Linked DNA regions of Homo sapiens: regions 1, 2, 3, 4, 6 and 7 are each linked to region 5. The links are contacts of gene promoters, found by promoter capture Hi-C in blood cells and fetal thymus (Javierre and others, 2016). All regions are on one chromosome and are shown on one strand. The core of a region is centred on a gene start or on the middle of the fragment in contact, and the rest is flanking DNA. Distances in the headings are between cores, read along the strand shown.

Region 1 (3,096 bases), core at 461-2,960, 680 kb after region 5:
GTGGACTTGGTTTAGAAGGGAAGTAGGTGAGGAAATGAGGTTCACCTGGGACATCCAGCTTACTGGTATGGACAGCAGAAGCAGCGTGGCTCTGCAACTCCAGCTGAGTCCAGAATTAGTGCAGAATGGACTCAGAAGGCTCCAATCTGACTTGGTGGTTTCATGGTCTTGGCAGAGGCAACAACTCCTTTGGCAGATCCACTCTGCTTTGTCATTTGGAGGGTTCTGGAAAAATCACCCTAGATTCTGTTTCTCCAGCCCTCCTAATGATTCTCTAAGGTATCTAGAGCTCTTGAAAATCCCTTACTTGTTAAAATAGGCAAAGTAGTTTCTGGTAGTTGCAATTGAGAATCTAACCAATATAGAGATCAGATGACAAATGGAGTTTTAGCCCAAGTTTGCTTCTCATGAGCCCAGTGGTATCCCAGACCAATCCTGTGGTTATTTCCCAGTGTCTGGAGTGGACTAGACATAGTCAGTAAAAGGATCCTGATCCTTACCAGTAAGGATTACGTGGTTTAGAAAAAGGACCAGCAACACTACATCTCTAAGGGAATGACAGAGATTAGTGCCACATGAAAGATTTGATGGGCCAGGAGTGGTGGCTCATGCCTGTAATCCCTGCACTTTGGAAGGGCAAGATGGGGAGAGAACACAGGAATGTAAGATCAGCCCTGGCAATAGAGTGAGATCCCTGTCTCTAGTTTAAAAAAAAAAAAAAAAAAAAAAAAAACCTCAAAAATTAGTCTGGCGTGGTGGCACACGCTTGTAGTCCCAGCTACTTGGGAGCCTGAGGTAGGAGGATTGCTTGAACCTGGGAGGTCAAGGCTTCAGTGAACTGTGATTGTACCACTGCCCACCGGCCTGGGCAACAGAGAGAGACCCTGTCTCAAAAAAAAAATGATAAATTTAGGGTTAACTTGCCTAGTTTTTCTGTGCAGAACATGAACAGATGTTAGAGAATAGCCATGAATTATTTTACAATTTATCACATGGTTGTTCCAACAGCAGTCGTTGATCCAGATTGTGTCCCTTTTCTAAAGCAGATCACCATTGACCCTGGCACCTGCTGTGGGAAATTCTTTTTTCTTTATCCCAATAAACAAAGAGTACCAGAATAAATATGCTTTCACCTGCAGAGAAAGCAACACGGTCATTCCCCTTATCCATGGTTTCGCTTTCCACAGCTTCAGTTACCTGTGGTCAACTGTCATCCAAAAATATTAAATGGAAAATTCCAGAAATAAACAATTTGTCAGTTTTGAAGTGTGCTGCCCTGAAGAGCATGATGAAATCTCACACTGCCCCACTCTGTCCAGCCCAGGACAGGAATCATCCCTTTGTCCAGCTCTCCATGCTCTATGCACCACCCACCCACTAGTCGTCGCTTAGTAGCTGTCTCAGTTGTCAGATCAACTGTTGCAGTATTGCCGTGCTTGTGTTCCCTTATTTTACTTAATTACGACCCCAAAGTGCAAGAGCAGTGATGCTGATAATTCAGATTTGCCAAAGGGAAGCCACAAAGTGCTTTTTTTTTTTTCTTAAAAGGAGTTTTGCTCTTGTTTCCCAGGCTGGAGCACAATGGCGTGATCTCGGTTTACCTCAACCTCTGCCTCCCGGGTTCAAGCGATTCTCCTGCCTCAGCCTCCCAAGTACCTGAGATTACAGGCATGCGCCACCATGCCTGGCTAATTTTGTATTTTTGGAAGAGACAGTGTTTCTCCATACTGGTCAGGCTGGTCTCAAACTCCTGACCTCAGGTGATCCTCCAGCCTTGGCCTCCCAAAGTGCTGGGATCACAGGCATGAGCCACCGCGCCCAGCCAGCAAAATGCTTTCTTTAAGAGAAAAGATGACAGTTCAAAACTTACTACGGAAAGAAAAAAACCATACGCTGAGGTTGCTAAGATCTACAGTATGATAAGATATTTTGAAAGAGAGAGACCACATTCAAATAATTTTTATTACAGTATATTGTTATAACGATTCTATTTTATTAGTTATTGTTGTTAATCTCTTGGTCTGCCTAATTTATAAAGTAAACTGTATCTTAAGTATGAATGTGTAGGAAAAAGCATAGTGTAGATAGATTTAGGTGCTATCCACAGTTTTGGGCATCCAGTCAGGATCTTTGAATGTATTCCCTGTGAAATAATGAGCAACTACTGGGCATCTTTTCCAGGATGTGCAGAGAATCAAACTTGGAGGGTATGCAAACAGAAAAATTCCCCAAATCACACTCAAGGATTGCTCTAGGAACACACCACTGCTGTCACTTCTGGCCACCAAAATTGAAGCTCAAACTATGGATGATGGGCACTGCATGTCTTTGCCAGAGCCGCTGCTATTGCTTCCTCAAAAAATCACATATCTCTGCCCAACCTTGTTCCTGCCATAAAAAATTCCACTCAGCACCTCCTTTAAATCAAAATCAAAGTCCTTCACTCCAATGGGGTGCCATGGTTAAAAAAAAAAAAAAAACGTCTTGTGCGGGCGCACCTGAGTGGCAGGGCTGTCAGGGGCCCATGCCCTAGATGCAGGTGAGCTCGGAAAAGCAAGTTTCTGACCTCTCCCTTGGGGAGCTTCACACTTAAGGTGGAGAATTTCCCAAATTGAGGTAGAGAAAAGATACATAAAATGGGCCAGGCCTTGTGGCTCACACCTGTAATCCCAGCACTTTGGGAGGCCGAGGCAAGTGGATCACCTGAGATCAAGAGTTCAAGACCAGTCTGGCCAACATGGTGAAACCCCCGTCTTTACTAAAAATACAAAAATTAGCTCAGCGTGGTGGCAGGTGCCTGTAGTTCCAGCTACTCAGGAGACTGAGGCAGAAAATCGCTTGAACCCGGGAGGTAGAGGTTGGATTGAGCTGAGATCGTGCCACTGCATTTCAGCCTGGACGACAGAGTGAGACTCCGTCTCAAAAAATAATAATAATAATAAATAAAATAAATAAAAAGATATGTAAAATGGTAGATGAGGAAGACAGCAGGTAGCAGAAAAAGAACCAGAGAAGAGTAAACAGTTGCATATTAACAGCGGAGCGCTAGAAAAGAGATCACAGACTCTCACTGCTCAGGTGTCTTGCTAGAGCCAC
Region 2 (3,141 bases), core at 403-2,902, 720 kb after region 5:
AAAATGAAACTCACAGAGACCAGGGGCGGGTGGAGGATCCCTCCAAGTTCACGCTGGAAGTTCAGCTTCAGGTTAGCCTCTGCCCTCCCCCCAGCTATTCGACACTACCTCCTGCAAAGGACTGTGATCTGATCTTTTTAAAAAATGTTTTCTCTTGGTTATCAGTTTTAATTTGTATAGTTATATTATTATCTAAGCATAAAGTAAATTAAAAATCTATTTTATGATCACATAAAATTGACAGGCCAGAATATTAGTGCATGCAATCTGTTTCTAATTAGGAAGTCGATGTGGTATTCAACAAATTAATTGATTCTTTGGTTCTTAAATTGTTGTTTAGTTTCTTTATTCATATACACACACACACACAATTTTATGCACATGTATTAAAATGTGTGTGCACTCTTTTTGTTCCTTTCCTGTTTTTCTTGGCTCCCCTTTTCCCCTCAACCACTGCCACCCACATCAGCCTTCAACCCCACCCCCACAGTAATCTATGTTCATAACTCTGTATGTATCTTTTCATATTGTTGGTGCTTATATAATCTCACAGACACATGCACATGCATTTACATAAATGAGGGATGAGGGGTTGGCTGTTTATTTCACATAAGTGAAATCAATATCCTACATGTACATTTCTGCATTCCACATTTCTCTCTCTCCAATCCCTGGAGGAATCCCTCCTTGCCATCCAATAAATAGCTCCAATTTATTGACTATAATGGCTGCTTAATACTCCAGGGTAGCAGTGGACCATTATTTATTCCACCTGTCCACTATCAACTTTTAAAAATGTGTTTGCCACCTTCTGTCACTACAAATAAACAGCAGTAAATATCTTTGCACATATGCCTTTTTATACTGGTCTGTTATTTCTATTAATTTAAAATTAAGTGAAGTCCCTTAAATAATTTGAAAGTCATCTTTGCTGTATAATCACATATAACAAAGCTGGAAAAGAACCTGGTAGAATAAAAGGTCTGGTGACAGAACAATGGATGAGTGTTTTCATTTTCTATATTTCCTTTTGTTTCGTCACACTATTCATATGGTAGATAAAAGCTAGAGACGTATGGGATTTTTTCTGTTGTTTTTTGTTGTTGTTGTTTGAGACAGGGTCTCACTCTGTCACCCAGGCTAGAGTGCAGTGGCACACTCTCGGCTCACTGCAACCTCCACCTCCTTGATTCAAGCGATTCTCCCACCTCAGCCTCCCAAGTAGTGGGGCTATGGGCACGCACCACCACGCCTGTCTAATTTTTGTATTTTTTGGTAGAGATGGAGTTTCACCATGTTGGCCAGACTGCTCTCAAACACCTGACCTGAGGTGATCCTCCCTCCTAGGCCTCCCAAAGTGCTGGGATTACAGGCGTGAGCCACAGCACCAGGCCGACGCATGAGTTTTATGTGTAACAATCCTAACATGGTAGGAGAAAGAGGGACCCTTGCAATCAACAGTGTGTTAACTAGGGGTGAAGTCAGAAATGGCGTCTCCTGGATAGCTGCCACTATTGCTTTAACACCCCTTGATCTGCTCAAAGCCCTTCGGGGGTCTTGGACTGTTGGGGATTCCAGGATGCAGACAGCACATCAGAGGAGGGGCCAGATAAGGAGCTCCACTGCCTCATGCCTCAGTTCTGTAGATGGGGCTCCATCCCTCCAGGGCTCAAGAAGATATTTGCTTTCACATCCATGCCAGCTTGTCAATACCTACCCATGGAGACCTCCCTGTGCCAACACAATGAGAAGCACATGGAACCCAGAGAAGCCTGCCCTCAAGAAATTCTTCTGAGCAAGTTCTGTGGAGTCCTGAAAGAGCAGAGACTTCTAAACCAAACCTCCACGGCCTGACTCCACAAGTCTTTACTGAGTGTCCTTTATGGGCTGGGTACCATCCAGGGGCTGTTGGTAACTAGCAAAACAAAAGTTTCATTACTGTTTATGTTTCGGGGAGCAGACAGAAGGTCTTAAACAACAAGCTACAGCAGTGAAAAGACAAGCACAAGAAATTGCTTATCTCATACACTAGGAGGGACACTGAGCTTATTAGAGCTCTCAGAAACAATGGACCCAAAGAAAGCAGAGCTTTACAAGCATACCACTCATTCATTTACAACAGCAGATGCACTTTATGGGCTGCCATTAATTCTCACTCTAGTCATTGTTTTTGCACCTCATGCAATTATCTAAAACAATATTTGCCGAACTTTGACAGTAAGTCAAGCATAAGGAATCTGAAGGTACCTTCAAATTAGACAGATTTCAAGGAACACTGGGAGTTCTCAACCTTCTCAGCTCAGGTGCCAGGATCTTAGGAAGTGGGAAAGACCAGGCAAGAGCAAAAGGCAGTCTGATTTGGGGCTTGAATCATAGTTTGAGAAATCCAGGCAGCAAGCCATTTCCAGATGGAAATTCTGGTTCCCTTATTGAAGGGAAAACTCATATTTCTGCACAATATTGTCCTTCTGTTTAAAAGGGGCTCATGATTTGTTTCTACAAGATAACAGCAATGAAGAAGAGATAAGTGATTTCTGCTCTCCGGGAGTTTTGCTAAGTGACTGTGAGACCCCAAGAAAGTTTTTTTTTTAATTTTCCTTTAACTACTGTAAACCTGAATTTCTGCATCTGTCAGGTAGAGGCCTTTCGTGATGAGCTTTCCAAGGATCTGCTCCTGGGGGTTAGGCACTCGGAAGATACGGGTACAGACAACTTCTTTAAAATAGCACCCATGCCCAGGCTGGGCATGGTGGCTTACGCCTGTAATCCCAGCACTCTGGGAGGCCAAGGCAGGCAGATCACTTGAGGCCAGGAGTTTGAGACTAGTCTGGCCAACATGGTGAAATCCTGTCTCTACTAAAAATACAAAAAAAAAAAAAAAAAATTAGCTGAGTGTGGTGGCACACACCTGTAGTCCCAGCTACTCAGGAGGCTGAGGTATGAGAATTGCTTGAACCTGGGAAACAAAGGTTGCAGTGAGCTGAGATCGCACCATTGCATTCCAGCCTGGGTGACAGTGAGACTTTGTCTCAAAAAATAAATAAATAAATAAATAAAATAAAATAAAATAGCACCGCATGCCCAGTTGGAGGGTATTCTACATCCTCTGTTCTGACATCTCATTAATGAACAACTCATGAA
Region 3 (2,973 bases), core at 57-2,556, 750 kb after region 5:
TGAAACCCCGACTCTACTGAAAATACAAAAATAAGCCAGGCGTGGTAGTACCTGTAATCCCAGGTAGTCAGGAGGCTGAGGCAGGAGAATCGCTTGAACCCGGGAGGTGGAGGTTGCAGTGAGCTGAGATCGTCCCACAGCCCTCCAGCCTGGGCAACAGAGCGAGGCTCCATCTCAAAAAAACAAAAGAAAAAACAAAAAGACAAGGTCATGCCCCGTCTGCCCAGCTGGCCTTGGCTCCTACGAGCCCCCGCAAGGATTAACTGTCAACCCTTAGGATGGTGCCCACCCCATACCCCACACCCCTGCCCAGAACCAGCGCGGGCTGTATGCAGCAGGTGCTCTGTGAGTGCTTGCTGAATTGTTAGGGTCATGGAGCCTGAGCAGTGACTGGGGAGGAGACAAGGTCCCAGGAAAGGGACATGGCCACCTACCCTTCCCCTCAAGGAAAAGGGTCAGTATCAGGTGGTCAGGGAAAGTGAGAGGCCCTGGAGCCCAGAACGGGCTCCCAGCTGAGACCTTGGCTTCGCTGATGAGGAGAGAACCCCAGAGACCCTCATTCCACCCCTAGTCCCCTGTCACTAAGACCCACTGGGGTCCTTTCCATTCACCCCTCAGACACAGAGCCCCTGTCACCTGCAGGGCCCTTGGAGGTCACAGATCTCCTGCCCCTCGCTCACCCCCAGGCACTCCCACCCCTGGCCCAGCATCGCCTGAGAAGTGCACCCTCACCCAGCCACACCTGCCGCCTCCACAGGTGGAATCCTGCTTCCTCTATTCTGTTTCCTGCCTCTATCCTGAGGCCCCAGGCGGCCCCACCCAGATCCTCCCACCCTCCACCTTCCCAGGGCCCTGGGAGATTCGGAACATTGCTGGGTGCCCTGAGCCTCTGCCCCAGTTTGAAGAGACAGAGGTAAGGGGATCCCCCAGCACCCCCTGTATACCCAGGGCTTGGCCAGGGGCTCCCCTACCCAGGGGTAAGTGGACCCAGCCTTTCTTCCCCTCTGCACCCCTCACTCACCTCTGACTGGTTTCCAGGAACTGTCAGCCTGTGGCGGATCCAAGACGTAGGATACGGACACCCAGGAACACCCCACCCTTCCAGGCAGCACATCAGCTGTCCAGGGGCCCTTCCCAAAAGAGGGCCTAGAGGACTGAATGCCTCGGATGAGGCCCAGGGCGGGAGGACAGAGCAAGGGAGGGAGGGAGGGAAGGCTGGGGACCAGTGGGAATGAGTGGGGAGGACATCACGGACAGGAAACCCAGGCCTCGGGGGTCACCCGTGGGACACCTCACTGCCTCTCACAGGGTGAAGACTCCTGTGAGAGGAGTCTTGACCAGACGGCTTCGTCCCTCTGTCCTTCCCTCTGTCTTTCCCTCCCTCTGCCCTTCCCTCCCTCTTTTTCCTCCCTCTTTTCACTTCCCCCACCGCTTCCTTGGCCTGAGAGATGCATAGGGGTGAGTGAGAGGCAGAAACTCCAGTGGGTTCCCCTTTCAGGCTCACACCCCCTCTCCACTCTGCCCTGCAGCCTGGCTGAGGGCAACCTGAGGGCCTGGGGAAATGGGAGTCAGAGACACCAAGGGGACTCCAGGCTCCTTCCCACCCTGCAGACCCCAAACCCCCAGCTGCACCTCCCTCCCCGACCCAGCTACCAGCTCGCTCCTCCCTCCCTGCGCCCTGGGGAGGCTGGTTTCTCCCTGTTGATGAGCGCTCATTCGCGCCTGCTCTGCAATGCTCTTGAGTGGCTTTCTCCAGGGGCAGATGAGGCCAGGCTCCCCAAAACAGAGACTGTGTCTCTTCCCTTAAATTGGACACTTCCTCAAGGTAGCAGCCATGTCTCCCCCTCAGATTGGGGGCTCCCTTGACATAGGAGCTCTTTCTCCCTGATGTGAAGGGGGTCTCTCAACTCCTTGTCCTGGTGTTGACCACCCAGCCCACCACAGTGTGACACACCTGACTGACCAACAAGGGAGGAGAAGCAGGGCAGGGAGCACTGAGGGAGGAGGACCAGGGCAGGGAGGACTGCTGGAGGAGGAAGAGGGGACGGAGGACTAGGTAGGTAAGACCAGCGGAAGGAGGACCAGGGGAAGGGCATGAGGAGAGGGAGGACTAGGGTAGGAAGACCAGGGGAAAGAGGACCAGGGGAGGAGGACTGGGGGAGGGAGGACCAGCAGAGGAAGGGCTATGGGAGAAGAACCAAGGGAGAGAGGACTAGGGGAGGGAGGACCAGGGAACGAGGACCAGAGCAAGCCATCATCTATCCTTTCCAAGGGCAAAACAGGAGAACAGGGCAGGAGCATTCCTTTGCAGAGGCCTGGGCTCCATGGAGTGTTCTGCCTGAGCCCCAGCCCGCCATACAGGCCTGCTTCCTCCATCCAGGAAGCTGAGCTGCCCTCCAGCCAGCCAGGAGCAAGCTCCCTCCACTAAACTCCTGCAGCACTGTGGTCCCTGCCATCTCTGCCTCAGAACCCAGGGTCCCTGGGAGCCTTGTTATTGAGTGTTTCTGGTTGACGCACTTTTTTCAGCAAAGTTTCATGGAGAGGGACCAGAGTTTCTAATCTTCACAACCACAGGGTCAGGCATTGTGTTAGCTATGATCACACTCTATGATGTCATGCAAAGAGCTCCAAGTCCAAGAACCTGGGGTCAAATCTGGACTCTTGCCCAACTTGGGCAAGTCATTTTTCTTCTTTTAGGCTCAAACCCTCCTCCTCTGCAGAATGAAAGGACTAGACTTTTTTTTTTTTTTTTGAGACGGAGTTTCACTCTTGTTGCCCAGGCTGGAGTGCAATGGCTTGATCTCGGCTCACTGCAACCTCCGCCTCCTGGGTTCAAGCGACTCTCCTGCCTCAGTCTCCAGAGTAGCTGGGATTACAAGTGCCCACCACCGCGCCCAGCTAATTTTTTCTATTTTTAGTAGAGACTGGGTTTCACCATGTTGGCCAGGCTGGTCTCAAACTCCTGACCTCAGG
Region 4 (2,987 bases), core at 434-2,933, 740 kb after region 5:
AGGCTCCCACACCTGAGATCTTCCCATCCGTTTATGGATGAGAAAGCAAGGCTCAGTGAGGGGAAGTGACTGCCTAACTTCTCGAGGTCACAGAGCTACTCACAGGGCAAGCAGTGGCCACCTAGGACCGCACCTGATACACCAACTCCACCCCAGGTCTAGCGCAGCCTGGACCACCCCCTGAAAATCTCCAGCCCTTGGGAGAGGCAAGCACCCCCTTCCAAACTCTCCCCAGACTTACTCTTTATGCCGGTCTAAGCTGACCCCTGACCTGCCAATCAACAACGGTGGGTCTCCAAGCACCATCTCCCCTCACCCTCACTCCTTCCCATTTCACCCTTTTGTCCCTAGTCCCCACTTCAGGGGCCAGAACAAGGACACATTTCATAGCTGAGTCAACAAGCTTTATTGTCATCAGGCAAGGAAGCATGGGGAAGGGACTGAAGCAGGGGGCTGAGGCTGGAGAGGCCGGAGACTGTGGGGCAGATGGGGCGGCTGCCTCCCTGCCTCCTGGGTGGCCGGCCGGGGTAGCTGAGTCCTCAGCGGGTGGTCTGGTGGACCTGCTCGCGGGAGGAGATGACCTTGCCATCCTGGACCTCTTCCACAATGGTACGCACCTGACGGGTGGTCACCGCTGCAGGAGAAGCAGGCAATTTAAAGTGGGTAGGGGCCAGGAGGCCCTCGCTTGCCCCCTAGCCCTCATGGACAGGAGCCGGCTCTCTCCCTCATCCTCCCCCAGGTGCTGTGAGTGCCTCCACTGGCACCTCGACATCACACTGCACACACATCCCTCCTGTCCCTGCCACCACCTCCCTTCCATCCCATCCCTCTGCCGGTGGCCCTGTGTGAGTCTTGCCTCCCCAGATGGGTTATTTGATTCTGATCCAGTGTGTCCTGCCAGGGAGGAGCCATGTAGACTCCATGAAATCCGTCTCCATTTCTCTGCAGTCTCTAGGACATAGATTTTCTACCATCTCCCCCATCAGACTGGGATCGCCAAGACAAAAACCAGGCCCCTATCTCCTCCATTAGACTAGGAACCCTAAGGCTAGGATCATATATTCTCCATCAGATTGGAATTTGGAGGACAAGGACCATGTCCCTATCTCCCATCAGGCTACAGACCCCAGAGACAGGACTGTTTTTGCTCATCCAAAAGCTGTCAAGAGCAAAGATCATGAGACCATGTTCCTATCTTCCCATCAGATGACAATCTCCAGAGCTGGGACCTGTCTCCTCCATCAGACTAGGATCTCCAAGGTAAGGACCAGTTCCCTGCCCCACCCCCATCAGACCAGACAGTGTCTCTCTCATTTGATCTTTTCCTGAGTATCAATCCTCAGTGCTAATGAGTCACTTCTCCCTGCTGAGGGACAGCCATCAACTCCTGGAGCTCCTGGGGACCCTGCCCCAGCAACGTGCAGGTGGGCTGCCTGTCCCATGCACCCAACCCCCAGGGCCGAAGCCACGCAGATACTTACGTTCTTTCTTGTACTGAGTCAGGCTGAAAGAAAAAAAAAAACAGAGAGGAAATTAGATGTGGGTCTGAGAGCCCCACCCCTGCCAAGAGACCCCCAGCCCTGACCCCAGGCGCCCCCACTCACTGGGCATCCTCTCCCTCCAGCAGGCGGCGGTAGGTGGCAATCTCCTGCTCCAGCCGCGTCTTCACATCCAGCAGGATTTTGTATTCCTGGTTCTGCTGCTCCATCTCGCAGCGAAGCTGGGCCAGCTGCTCCTCCACGCTGCCAATCAGCCCCTGGATCTGGGACAGCTGCACGCAGTAGCGGTTCTCTGTCTCCGCCAGGTTGCCCTCCAGGGATGCTTTCTGCAGGAGGGCAGGAAGACCAGGGGTCAGTGAGGATGGTCAATGCCCTCTTCTGGGCCCTCCCCCATGCACAGGACTGTTCCTACCATGCTGAGCTGGGACTGCAGCTCTATCTCCAAGGCCTGCATGGTGCGCCGGAGCTCCGAGATCTCACTCTTGCCACTCTGCACCAGCTCACTGTTGGTGGCCACCTCGCGGTTCAGTTCCTCTGTCTGCAGACAGGACACAGGACAGGGCGGTGTGAGCCTGGATCCCTCTCCCAAGTCAGGCCTCCTCCCAAATCTAACTGTGGAGAGAGTGTGCCTTCTCACCAGCTTCCCACATCCCAAAGCCCAGAAACATGCCATTTGAAATGTTAACTTTTTATGGTTAATCCCAGCGTGTGGGAGGCACAGACCGGAAACTTGAGAACAAGCCAGAACATGTAGCCTGGCTCTTGATGCTAGTTCCTGACTTCTTGAGGGAGACGTGGGGACTCCCAAGGTCTTTACCCTCTGCCTTTATTCTGAGGGAGCTCCCTACCTCCCCACCCACCCGCCAGATCCCAGCTTGAGCTCAGCTCCATGTCTGTTGATGCAGTGGGTGACCCTGTGGTCCATGCAGCTTACTGAGGAGGGGCACCTCCAAGACATCTGGCCGTGGGCTTACTGTCAGTGCTAAGGCCCCTGAGCCCCAGCCCCTAAGAGAGCCCTCTGGCCTGCAGCACCCCCCACCTTGCTGAAGAACCAATCCTCGGCATCCTTGCGGTTCTTCTCTGCCATCTTCTCATACTGGTCACGCATCTCGTTGAGGATGCGGCTCAGGTCCACGCCTGGGGCAGCGTCCATCTCCACATTGATCTCACCACCCACCTGGCCTCGCAGGGCGTTCATCTCCTATGGAAAAAGGGGATGTGGATGTGCGCATCTGGACCCATCCTGACCTCTCACTCCCAAGCCTTCCCCCACAAGGGGACCCCACTTCCCACAAGGACCCCTCCTTTGTTCTCCCTCTGCTCTATCTGACCCTCTAAATGATTTTTATTCATCTGCTCAGTATTGCCTCCACCATCAGACTCTATCTCCCCCATTAGACCAAGGACTCTCCAAAATAAAATCTAATTATTAGGCCTATGCCCCCAAAAGTTCCCCTCTAATTTCCAAGCTTCTATGTAGATGTTCAG
Region 5 (3,338 bases), core at 219-2,718:
TTCGAACATTTTTAGTGAGAGCTTGCGAAGGATGAACTTTATTCCGGAAGGGCTATTTAAATGCCATTGCTTCACATGCCCATAGTTTCTAAAATTCCAAAGTAACTTCCCATGGAGTCCGAATCAAATTGCCCTGATGTTTAGTACAACTCAAGAAAAACAGACTTGCTGGTAAGTAAATGCGCTTTGCTCTAAAGGAGTATGAATCTTAACACAAATTACAGTGAACACTTTTCTTAATTAGATAAGAACTTTAATTTGAAGCAAGTGCTCTGTGTCATATCTGAAATTTTCAATTAGGAGCAAAGTCTTCTGCTTTTATTCCATGAAACTGATAAAATACAGAGCTCCACCCTTTTTTTGATGACATAGGAGGAGGTTGTGATATGATTGTAATAAACATGAATTGGGGGCAATAGAACATTTTATTACTGTAGAAGTAGTTTCTGAACTGCTTGATGCTGATGGTCATGTTATTAAACAGGGCACTTAAAAATCCAGGCATCATTAAGACCCATATTCCTGCCACACTGTTTCCACCCAGAATCACTTTGCTATTTAAATCTGCAGTACAGTATTCTAATAGTCATATTATAACATTTACTTAAATAAAAGGAGAAAAGTCTTTGAATTTACTGGGGTTTCAAAACTTGATAAGGACTAGGTGAAAAACTAAGAGAGATTTATCACGTAATTAATTTTTAGCTCTTTTCAGAAAGATTGTTCACTATACATTTAGCCCTGATGTGATAAGCTGTGACAAAGATTCATTTTATTCCGGAGGATAAAATGTTCATATTTTGTATGTAATTGTGTTAAACATTAAAAATAGCATGATTTAAGGTCATCCTGTTGTACAGTCAGGTACTCCAGCACTAAAGGTAGATGAAAGAATTTTTATAGATGTAACATTTTAGCCTAATTTGCTTTACAAAGTCCATTTGGACCTACCTAACATAGATAACCTCTTGATTTATCTTGAAGCTAAACACAGAGTAGGAAACACAAGCATCATCTCTCACCTGACTTCGCAGCTCTTCAATTTGTCTGTAATATGCACTGTAGTCGCGACCAGCCCTCGGGGCGTTGGTTTCGTACCACTGCTTGATTTGCACTTCAAGTTTGGAGTTGGACTGCTCCAGGGTCCGCACCTTTTCTAGGTAGCTCGCTAGACGGTCATTTAGGTTCTGCATGGCCATTTTCTCATTGCCAACAAACAGGTCCCCGCCGCCTGTGAGATCGCTCCCATAGTTCACCGTGTGTCTGGAGTTGGAGATGCGGATGCCCCGGCCTCCAGCACCCCCATAAACGCTGGGTGTCGTCCCGAGGCGCTGCATGCCCACTGTACTGACTACAGGGGCCTGCAAGGAGGAGCTCAGGCTTCTGTGGAAGCTTCTGCGACTGAAATCCATTGGAGATTCCAGGAGGGAGCACCTGTAGCTTCAGGATGGTTGGGGCAGAGTGTGTCTCATGGAGGGTGTTGAGCTAGCCTTTTATGAAGTCCACAGGCAAGAAACTCCTCCTCTGCTGACATGTCACTAGGATTGGCACCACAGTCCACCTTGCCTTACTTCCACGCCCCCCGCTTTGTATAGCAATATGTTAATATGCTTAATTCAATTCCAGAAAATACCACTAGAGGCATTTCTTGGAGGCTTTTATCAGGGGCAACTTTTTTTTTTTTTTAATTAAACAGGTAATAAAAGGAAACAGGAAAGTGTATTCTTTTAGCCCATGCGCCTGCCTTGGCAGGTTTTTTTCATCCTAACATACACACAAAGAATATTTACAATCCTCATGTATAATTTAGGTATCTAAAAAGGCAGATGTGCCTACATAACTGAAAGTCACAATGGAGATAAAGGACAATGTTTGATTTGTATTGAGGAGTTGCTCTTCAGAACCTCTGTTTCATGCTTTGCTTGTGTTTGGCTTTTAAGTTTATTGTGTTTTGGACATCTTATTTTATAAGACTATTAAAATATTTTGTACAAACACAAAACCTCGAATCCCTAAACCAGGAATGAAACCATTGTACATTTGGAGATGTAGTTTGGGGATGTGAATTAAATGAATTTAGCTGAGTGATGGATTAGATGATTTGGGAGGTTATTTTCTTTCTATTTCTAATGTTCTATGACTAAATATTGCATTTTAGGTTTCCAGTCACCACCTGGCTTCAAGTCCTGTTACCAAGACACTTAGAATAAATCACACAGTGCTTTGTACCTGGCATGGTATCAGGATGGGTCTCCTCTTTTGTATGAGGCCAGCTTAACACCCACCATGAGACAGACTCTGCCCCATCCATCCTGAAGCTACTTACAGGTGCTCCTTCTAAAGTCCCCAGTGGATTTCAGTTGCAGAAGCTTCCATGGAAGCCTGATCTTCCTTGTATGCCCCCATAATCACAGCGAGAGTGGCTGTTTATATAGGAAGGGGTGCAGGCGGGGACTTGGGACTACACTCAGCTTCCAGGGTTGGGCTGGAGGCAGCTGCTTGTGTGTGGACCTCTAGACACATGGGCATGATCTCATCGGTGGGAATCTGATTGTAAGCAACCAATAAATGCCTGAGTCACTTGCTTCCCTTCATTCAAACCCCCTGGCTGAGAATTCACACTTCCCATGAAGCATGTAAATCACTTCCTTAGTTAATTAGATAATCACTAATTAATATAATTAGATAATCAGTTAATCACTTCCAAGTTAATTAGAAGGGATTGGAAAAGTCACTAAAAACATCTAATTAATTGTCATCCTGATACTTTAATGGAATTGAGATTTGTATATAATTAAGCAAGCAAGTAAATGCAAAAAAAATTGGAATTTAATTGTCTTATTTTAGTGGCTTATTTGTTGTTGCTGTTGTTCTGAAAGCCAGTCACTTAAAAAAAATTTTTTTTGAGTTTTTAGAAACCAGTGGCTTTTTTACTTTTGAGTTTAAATTTCTTTTACACACAACTTTCTTCTAAAATAAGGTCAGATCATATTATTTCTCTCTTATAAACAGTATACTTTAAAATAATACATTGTGTTTGATTTTATCTTAGTTATATCACAGAAATAAAAATTGAGATAAAATGGAATCTATTTTATGCATTTTATGGTATATGTGTGGGCAGCTCTTATATTTTTATCCATTCATGTATTCATCAGCCAATACTGAGTACTCACCACCAATGACTGGACTGGTAGCAAGAAGACCTTGCTAACTTATTAGAGTTATAAATTACTTTGTTAATAGATGTCACAGCTAAACTCTGTAGCAGAGAAGAACTTTTTATAAACACATGAACTATGTTCTTTATACATGTATTCAAAGATGAATTGTTTTTG
Region 6 (3,193 bases), core at 366-2,865, 800 kb after region 5:
GAGATTCTGCTGCTTCCGTGCCACGTTGGTGGCCTTGGAGAATCTTATTGAGGTCGAGGGTCCCAAGGTGTCCTACACAGCCATGCCCTTGTCACATCCCAAGGAGATCACCATGGAGAGGTGCCCACCTCTGTCCCATCCTCATTCAGAGGGGCTCACTCCTGTCCCCTGCTGCTCTCGGAGGCTCTCTCTCTCCCTTCCCCTCTGGGAAACTGGTATAATCTATATAGTGGTTTCATAACTTTACATTTTTATCCGGCTGTACATAGTCTCCTCTTTAAATCCCCTCAACAGCCTATGAGAAGGGCATTATTGTCTCTGTCGTACAGAGGAGAAAATGCAGGCTGGGAGGGGCTAAGTCGCCCAGGCAACAAGATGGAGATGATATTCAGATACAGACACTCCAGAGCCTGTGCTTTGTACCCTGCCCTTGGCTGCCCAGGTGACAGCATCTCAAAGCCAGGAGCACACTAATAAAGAAGCCAGCATTAACAGCAGGCATGCATGCCACTTTCAAACTAATTACTCCTGCCTCCATGATTACTCCTCAGGCTCCTGGGGCTGGGGTAACCTCCCACACTGGAAGGTAGACTTCGGAAGACCCTTCTGGAAATGCTCCCAACTTGGGAAAACAGCGCTTCAGACTTCAGACCCAGGAAGAGATCACCCAGTGCTCCTTTTATGGGGCATACAACTGAAGCCAAGAGGTAAACCAGGTCACCCACAAAGCTGGTGGCAAGTCAAGAACTGAGTCTCAGGCCTGGTGCGGTGGCTCATGCTTGTAATCCCAGCACTTTGGGAGGCCGAGGTAAAGGATTACTTGAGCCTAGCAGTTCAAGACCAGCCTGGGCAACATAGTGAGACCTCATCTCTACCAAAAATTTAAAAAATTAGCTGGCTATGGTAGCACATGCCTGTAGTCCCAGCTACTCAGGAGGCTGAAACGGATCACTTGAGCCTAGGAGTTCAAGTCTGCAATAAGCTATAATGGCACCATTGCACTCCAGCCTAAGTGACAAAGCCAGACCCTGTCTCAAAAAAAAAAAAAAAAAAAGAACTGAGTCTTGGCCGGGTGTTGTGGCTCACACCTGTAATCCCAGCACTTTGGGAGGCCAAGGCGGGCGGATCATTTGAGGTCAGGAGTTCAAGACCAGCCTGGGCAATGTTGTAAAACCCCTTCTCTACCCAAAATACAAAAATTAGCTGGGCATGGTGGCACCTGCCCGTAATCTCAGTTACTTGGGAGGCTGAGGCAGAAGCATAGCTTGAACTCAGGAGGTGAAAGCTGTGGTGAGCCAAGATCGCACCACTTCACTACAGCCTGGACGACAAAGCGAGATTCTGTCTCAAAAAATATTTTAGTGTGACAAAATATTGCATGCACACTGGGAAGGACAGCTCCAATTCATTCATTCAAACTCTCTCCCAAAACCCTTTCCAGCAGAACAATGTCCGTCAGGGCAAAGTGTTGTGGGATGTCAGGGACTCCCAACAGAGGGACCCGCTGAAGCCATGGCAGAAGAACATAAATTGTGAAGATTTAATGGATATTTATTAGTTCCCCAAATTAATACTTTTATAATTTCTTACGCCTGTCTTTACTGCAATCTCTGAACATAAATTGTGAAGATTTCATGGACACTTATCACTTCCCCAATCAATACCCTTGGGATTTCCTATGCCTGTCTTTACTTTAATCTCTTAATCCTGTCATCATAAGCTGAGGAGGATGTATGTAGCCTCAGGACCGTGATGATTGCATTAACTGCACAAATTGTTTGTAGAGCTTGTGTGTTTGAACAATATGAAATCTGGGCACCTTGAAAAAAGAACAGGATAACAGCAATGTTCAGGGAACAAAGGAGATAACTTTAAACTCTGACTGCCCGTGAGCCGGGCAGAACAGAGCCATATTTCTCTTCTTTCAAAAGCAAATGGGAGAAATATCGCTGAATTCTTTTTCTCAGCAAGGAACATCCCTGAGAAAGAGGATGCGTCCCTGAGGGAGGCCTCTGAAATGGCCACTTTGGGGACAGCTGTCTTTTACGGTCATCGCTGAGGGATGAAATAAGCCCCGGTCTCCTGTAGCGCTCCCAGGCTTATTAGGACGAGGAAATTCCCGCCTAATAAATTTTGGTCAGACCGGTTGTCTGTTCTCAAACCCTGTCTCCTGATAAGATATCATCAATGACAATGTGTGTCTGAAACTTCATTAGCAATTTTAATTTCGCCCCGGTCCTGTGGTCCTGTGGTCTTGCCCTGCCTCCATTTGCCTTGTGATATCTTATTACCTTGTGAAGCACATGATCTCTGTGACCCACACCCTATTCGTACACTCCCTCCCCTTTTGAAAATCACTAATAAAAACTCGCTGGTTTTGCGGCTTGGGGGACATCATGGAACCTGCCGACATGTGATGTCTCCCCCGGACACCCAGCTTTAAAATTTCTCTCTTTTGTACTCTGTCCCTTTATTTCTCGGACCAGCCAACACTTAAGGAAAATAGAGAAGAACCTACGTGAAATGTCGGGGGTGAATTTTGCCTGATAGTAAAGGTTCCCAAGTTGGCTGACTGGGGCCTTAGCTTCTCAAAAGGGGAAGACCATGAGACTGGGATGCCCATGACCTAGCCATGGTTCCTCCTTCCTGATGTCAAGGAAACCAAACTATTAATCAAGTTTATTTAGTAAATATAGAATCAAAACAAAGTATCAGGCCAGGCACACTGGCTCCTGCCTGTAATCCCAGCACTTTAGGAGGCCAAGGCAGGGGGACTGCTTTAAGCAGTTGAGGCTGCAGTAAGCCATGATCATGCCACTGCATTCCAGCCAGTCTGGGTGACAGAGTGAGACCTTGTCTATATATATATATATATACACATACATATATATATACATATATACACAAATACACACACACACATATATACACACACTCATATACATATATATATATATACACACACATACACATATATATATCAGGTACACCTAGCATTTCCTCCCTCAGAGTTTTTCTGAGTTTTCTGGTGGGCACATGCCCTGCCCCACAGTGGACTCCTTCCTACCCTCTGTCAGCCAGAATGCTGCCTCCCCAGAGGCCTTCTCTGACCACCCCATCTGAAGGAGCCTGGCCCTTTCACATCACCCTGTTTACCTCCTTTTTGGCACCTCTCACAATCTGTCATTATCCT
Region 7 (3,117 bases), core at 75-2,574, 770 kb after region 5:
GGCTCCTGCCCAGCCCTGACTCAGCCTAGGTGGGCCAGGGAAGCTGCAGCCTCAGCAGAACCAAGTCTCCCACCCCACCCTCCCCGCTGGCCTGCCTGGGATTGAACCAGGGGACAGGTCCTGGCAGGGGACTGAGAGTAGAGACAGCACCCCCTGGCCTCAGGACTTGGGGGAACAGCAGGGACTCTGTGGGACCTGCCCTTCTCCTGCACTGTCTGGAGGGTGCCAGCACAGCTCTGTCCGGGGGGGCTGCCCACAGCACATTTTCCCAGATGCCTGAGCCTCAGTTTCCTCATCCGTAAAAGGGGGCTAGTGACATTCCTGCCCACAGTGCAGGGCTGCAGTGGTGGAGGAGGTTCCCGGGAAGCATTTGAGAAGCAAACAGACCTCTTCCTAAGAAACAGAAGCGTCTGCCTAACCCCATGAGGCCAGGTGATCCCGTGCTCCATGCAGAAGAAACAGAAGCGTCTGCCCAGCCCCGTGAGGCCGGGTGGTCCCGTGCTCCATGCAGAGCAGGGTGACTCCATCATCCTCTGTCCCTGGCCCCAATACGGTTATTCCAAACTCCCCAGGACAAGGGCTGTGTCTCCCCCTCCGACTAGGCGGTCCCTGAAGGCTCGGGGCATGTCTCCCCTCAGACAAGAGGCTTCCCAGGGACAGAAACTCCATCCTCCTTGCTCCATCGCCCCACAGTCCCATGCCCTGCACTGCGGAAACCACAGGCCAGTGAAGGCCAGAAAAACTGCCCGTCCCCTCCTGGCGCCACCTTACCCCAGCCTCCCCAGGCCCTGACATCCACCTCCTTGCCCACCCAGCCAGCCCCCAAACGCGACGCTGGAGTGCCTCACGGTGCCCACCCAGACCCTGGGGATCAGGAGGCAGAGCCCCCCAGGTCTGGCGCTGGTAGAATCTCCCATCCCTCCCTGCCTGCAAAGAAAGGGCCCACTGGCCTCCCTCCCTGAGCCCTCCCACAGCTGGGCTGGCCAGAGAGAACTTTCTCCCTCTGCTCTCTTTCTCTGCTGTAGTTCAAGCACAGACCCTCTCACCCCAGCCAGCCCTTCTCCACCTTCCGGGCGCACAGTCTTAGGGGTGGAGCAGAGGCTGAGGTTGGGGGCCTCACAGTCAAAGGTGCTGAGACAACAGCCCCGCTGCCCTGTGCTCACTCAGAAGCTCCTGGGGAACTGGAGTGGAGGGGAAGGGTCCCCAAGCCCACAGGTTCTGGCTGCCCCTGCCACGTCCCCTCCCCCAGCCAGGCTTCTCCCAACTGCGGCAGGGCGTCTGGGCTCAGGTTGGGGTGCAGCGTTGGCAGGACAAACAGTCTCCAGTGTTGGGTGTTTGCCTCGGTTACCAAGGAGGGAGGTGAGGGGCCTGGCTCCCTGCCATGTTTGGGCCCCGGGCTGAAGGTGTGGGTGGCAGGGAAGGTGGAGGATTTGAGGTGGGGAGGCTCACTTCCCGCTCCCAGGGCTCGAGGGCAGGGCAAGCCAGCTGGGACTGCCAGATCCCTGGGCGGATTCAGACCTGCATCGGCCCTGCCTTTCTGCTGGCTCTGGGAAACTCAGTCAGGCAGGAGGAGACGCTGGGGGCGGGGCAGCCTCCCTTGCTGCTCAAAGCAGGGCTGTGGGCTGGAGGCTGGGCCCCGGCAAGTCAGGTACTGCCGTGGGTGTCCCAACCTTCCGGGACTGACGGCACCACGGCCTAACTCAGGCCGCCCGGGAGAGAGGCCTAGGAGCCCAGCTCTGGGCCCATGAATTTGGACAAGTCACCGCCCCTCTCTGGGCCCCAGTTTCCCCACCTATATAGTGTCAGGAGCTGGCCTGTGTAGTCCCACAGGGGCCTCCTTTGTTTTGTCCTCCCTGTCATGAGCTGGGCAGGTGGATGCTGAGGGGTTGAGGAGTTGGGCACTGAGCCGGGAGTTGTGACCCGGCCTTGAAGCCCTGGCTGGAAGGGCTCAGTACACATCCAGGCGGCCCTACTGCCCTGTCTGAGGCTGGCATGCAGTGAGTGCCCGGCTGAGTGCAGGAGCCCAGGGCTGTGGTCAGGAATGGCCGGGCCCTTTCTCCCTCTCTCAGCAATGATGAGAGCCACAGCCCAAGGAATCCCCTGCTGCCTCCTGCTCCCAGGTCTCCATCGCAGCCTCAGCATGACCGGCTCTGAGCAGGAAGTAGGGGAAGCAGGACAGAGGCTGGCCTGGCAGTCAGAGAGTGCACAGCCTGGCTCAGGAGGCTGGCAGGTCATCAGGGGCATAGAGCTGGCCCTCGTTGATGGGGCAGGGATGGCTTGGGGAGGGTGGAGACGCCGAGGCTTGAATTAGGGGGTGGGGGGTGCAGGTAGGGAAGAAAGGAAGAGGACTTGAGATTGTGACCAGGCAGTGCCACAAGGAACACAGGAGTGTGGGCCTTCCATGGGGAGGGAGGAAGGTGAGGCCAAAAGATGGCGGGGCAGGGGAAGGGACCACTTGCCTTGCAGCCCGGCCAGAGAGAGCGAGAATGAGCAGTTCCCACACCATGAAGACCTTTGCCCTGGCCCTGCTGGTGGCCCTGCTGTGCACAGAGAGACCCCAAGGTCTATGCTGCCACCAGTGCTTGGTGGCCCCAGCCTGGCACAGGCATGCCTGCCCCGCTGCCACATGCCCCTTCCCTGACAGGGTCTGCGTCTCGGGATATGAGAGACACAGGGAGTCTGGGTCCCTGTGGCATCTGGGAAAGTGAGAGTGGGGAACAGGCTCTGCCTCCTTTCCCTCCTGCCCCAAGAATGATACCATCATTTGGAATGTGGAGGTTCTGGACACCTCTATGAGTTCCAAGCTTTCTTGTTGCAAGAGAGGCCTCTGTAATGCGGGGGTCCTGGTGGCAGGCAGCACCTGGGCCCTTCCTTGGGACTCCTGCTCAGCCTGGGTCAGTTCCCCTCTGGGCCCTGCTGTGATGGCCTTTCCTGTCCCCCTTACCCCATGGCCCCCTCCTCTGTCCCCATGCATAGTGTCCTCCTCAGTTTGGGACCACTTCGGCACTGACCCTCGGGAATTCCAGTGTGGTTTTGCAGCCGCGCGTTCAGGGGAAGGATGTGGTGGGGCAGAGGCGGGGGCTTCCCTGTCAGGGGACTCTGGCACCGGGCGGGTCC

The links. Contacts are between HindIII fragments. The CHiCAGO score rates a contact against its expected background, and 5 or more counts as called.
Region 1: a fragment that was not itself captured here is called in contact with the fragment with the promoter of KRT20 in region 5 in 13 of 17 cell types (non-activated CD4 T cells, total CD4 T cells, M1 macrophages and 10 more); the score reaches 14.6 in non-activated CD4 T cells.
Region 2: a contact is called between a fragment that was not itself captured here and the fragment with the promoter of KRT20 in region 5, in 2 of 17 cell types (total CD8 T cells and non-activated CD4 T cells). The highest score is 5.6, in total CD8 T cells.
Region 3: a fragment that was not itself captured here is called in contact with the fragment with the promoter of KRT20 in region 5 in 14 of 17 cell types (activated CD4 T cells, naive CD8 T cells, total CD4 T cells and 11 more); the score reaches 20.3 in activated CD4 T cells.
Region 4: a contact is called between a fragment that was not itself captured here and the fragment with the promoter of KRT20 in region 5, in 5 of 17 cell types (activated CD4 T cells, naive B cells, naive CD4 T cells and 2 more). The highest score is 8.1, in activated CD4 T cells.
Region 6: a fragment that was not itself captured here is called in contact with the fragment with the promoter of KRT20 in region 5 in 3 of 17 cell types (naive CD4 T cells, total CD8 T cells and naive CD8 T cells); the score reaches 8.9 in naive CD4 T cells.
Region 7: a contact is called between a fragment that was not itself captured here and the fragment with the promoter of KRT20 in region 5, in 15 of 17 cell types (activated CD4 T cells, naive CD4 T cells, total CD8 T cells and 12 more). The highest score is 22.2, in activated CD4 T cells.

What each region holds. Positions count from the first base shown.
Region 1 is chr17:41,560,406-41,563,501 of GRCh38, forward strand. No RefSeq gene overlaps it. Among named protein-coding and RNA genes, the nearest start is that of LINC00974, 7.5 kb to the left of the region's middle. The HindIII fragment of the contact is 7,476 bases long and covers 1-3,096 here.
Region 2 is chr17:41,600,646-41,603,786 of GRCh38, forward strand. No RefSeq gene overlaps it. Among named protein-coding and RNA genes, the nearest start is that of KRT16, 11 kb to the right of the region's middle. The HindIII fragment of the contact is 9,356 bases long and covers 1-3,141 here.
Region 3 is chr17:41,637,666-41,640,638 of GRCh38, forward strand. It overlaps the pseudogene KRT42P. Among named protein-coding and RNA genes, the nearest start is that of KRT17, 15 kb to the left of the region's middle. The HindIII fragment of the contact is 3,640 bases long and covers 1-2,973 here.
Region 4 is chr17:41,619,055-41,622,041 of GRCh38, forward strand. It overlaps KRT17 (keratin 17), which reads right to left. Exons shown (of 8, transcript NM_000422.3): 4 at 2,539-2,700; 5 at 1,912-2,037; 6 at 1,605-1,825; 7 at 1,482-1,504; 8 at 388-634. The coding sequence ends at 540. Among named protein-coding and RNA genes, the nearest start is that of KRT17, 4.0 kb to the right of the region's middle. The HindIII fragment of the contact is 2,565 bases long and covers 402-2,966 here.
Region 5 is chr17:40,883,774-40,887,111 of GRCh38, forward strand. KRT20 (keratin 20) reads right to left here and starts at 1,469. Exons shown (of 8, transcript NM_019010.3): 1 at 1,023-1,469. The coding sequence starts at 1,412. All of the region lies in intron 1 of LOC105371777 (a long non-coding RNA gene), which reads left to right. The HindIII fragment of the contact is 977 bases long and covers 1,391-2,367 here.
Region 6 is chr17:41,683,867-41,687,059 of GRCh38, forward strand. No RefSeq gene overlaps it. Among named protein-coding and RNA genes, the nearest start is that of EIF1, 3.4 kb to the right of the region's middle. The HindIII fragment of the contact is 6,365 bases long and covers 1-3,193 here.
Region 7 is chr17:41,654,360-41,657,476 of GRCh38, forward strand. It overlaps LOC124904004 (a long non-coding RNA gene), which reads right to left and starts at 775. Exons shown (of 2, transcript XR_007065756.1): 1 at 1-775. RefSeq lists an enhancer at 1-586. The HindIII fragment of the contact is 2,956 bases long and covers 1-2,802 here.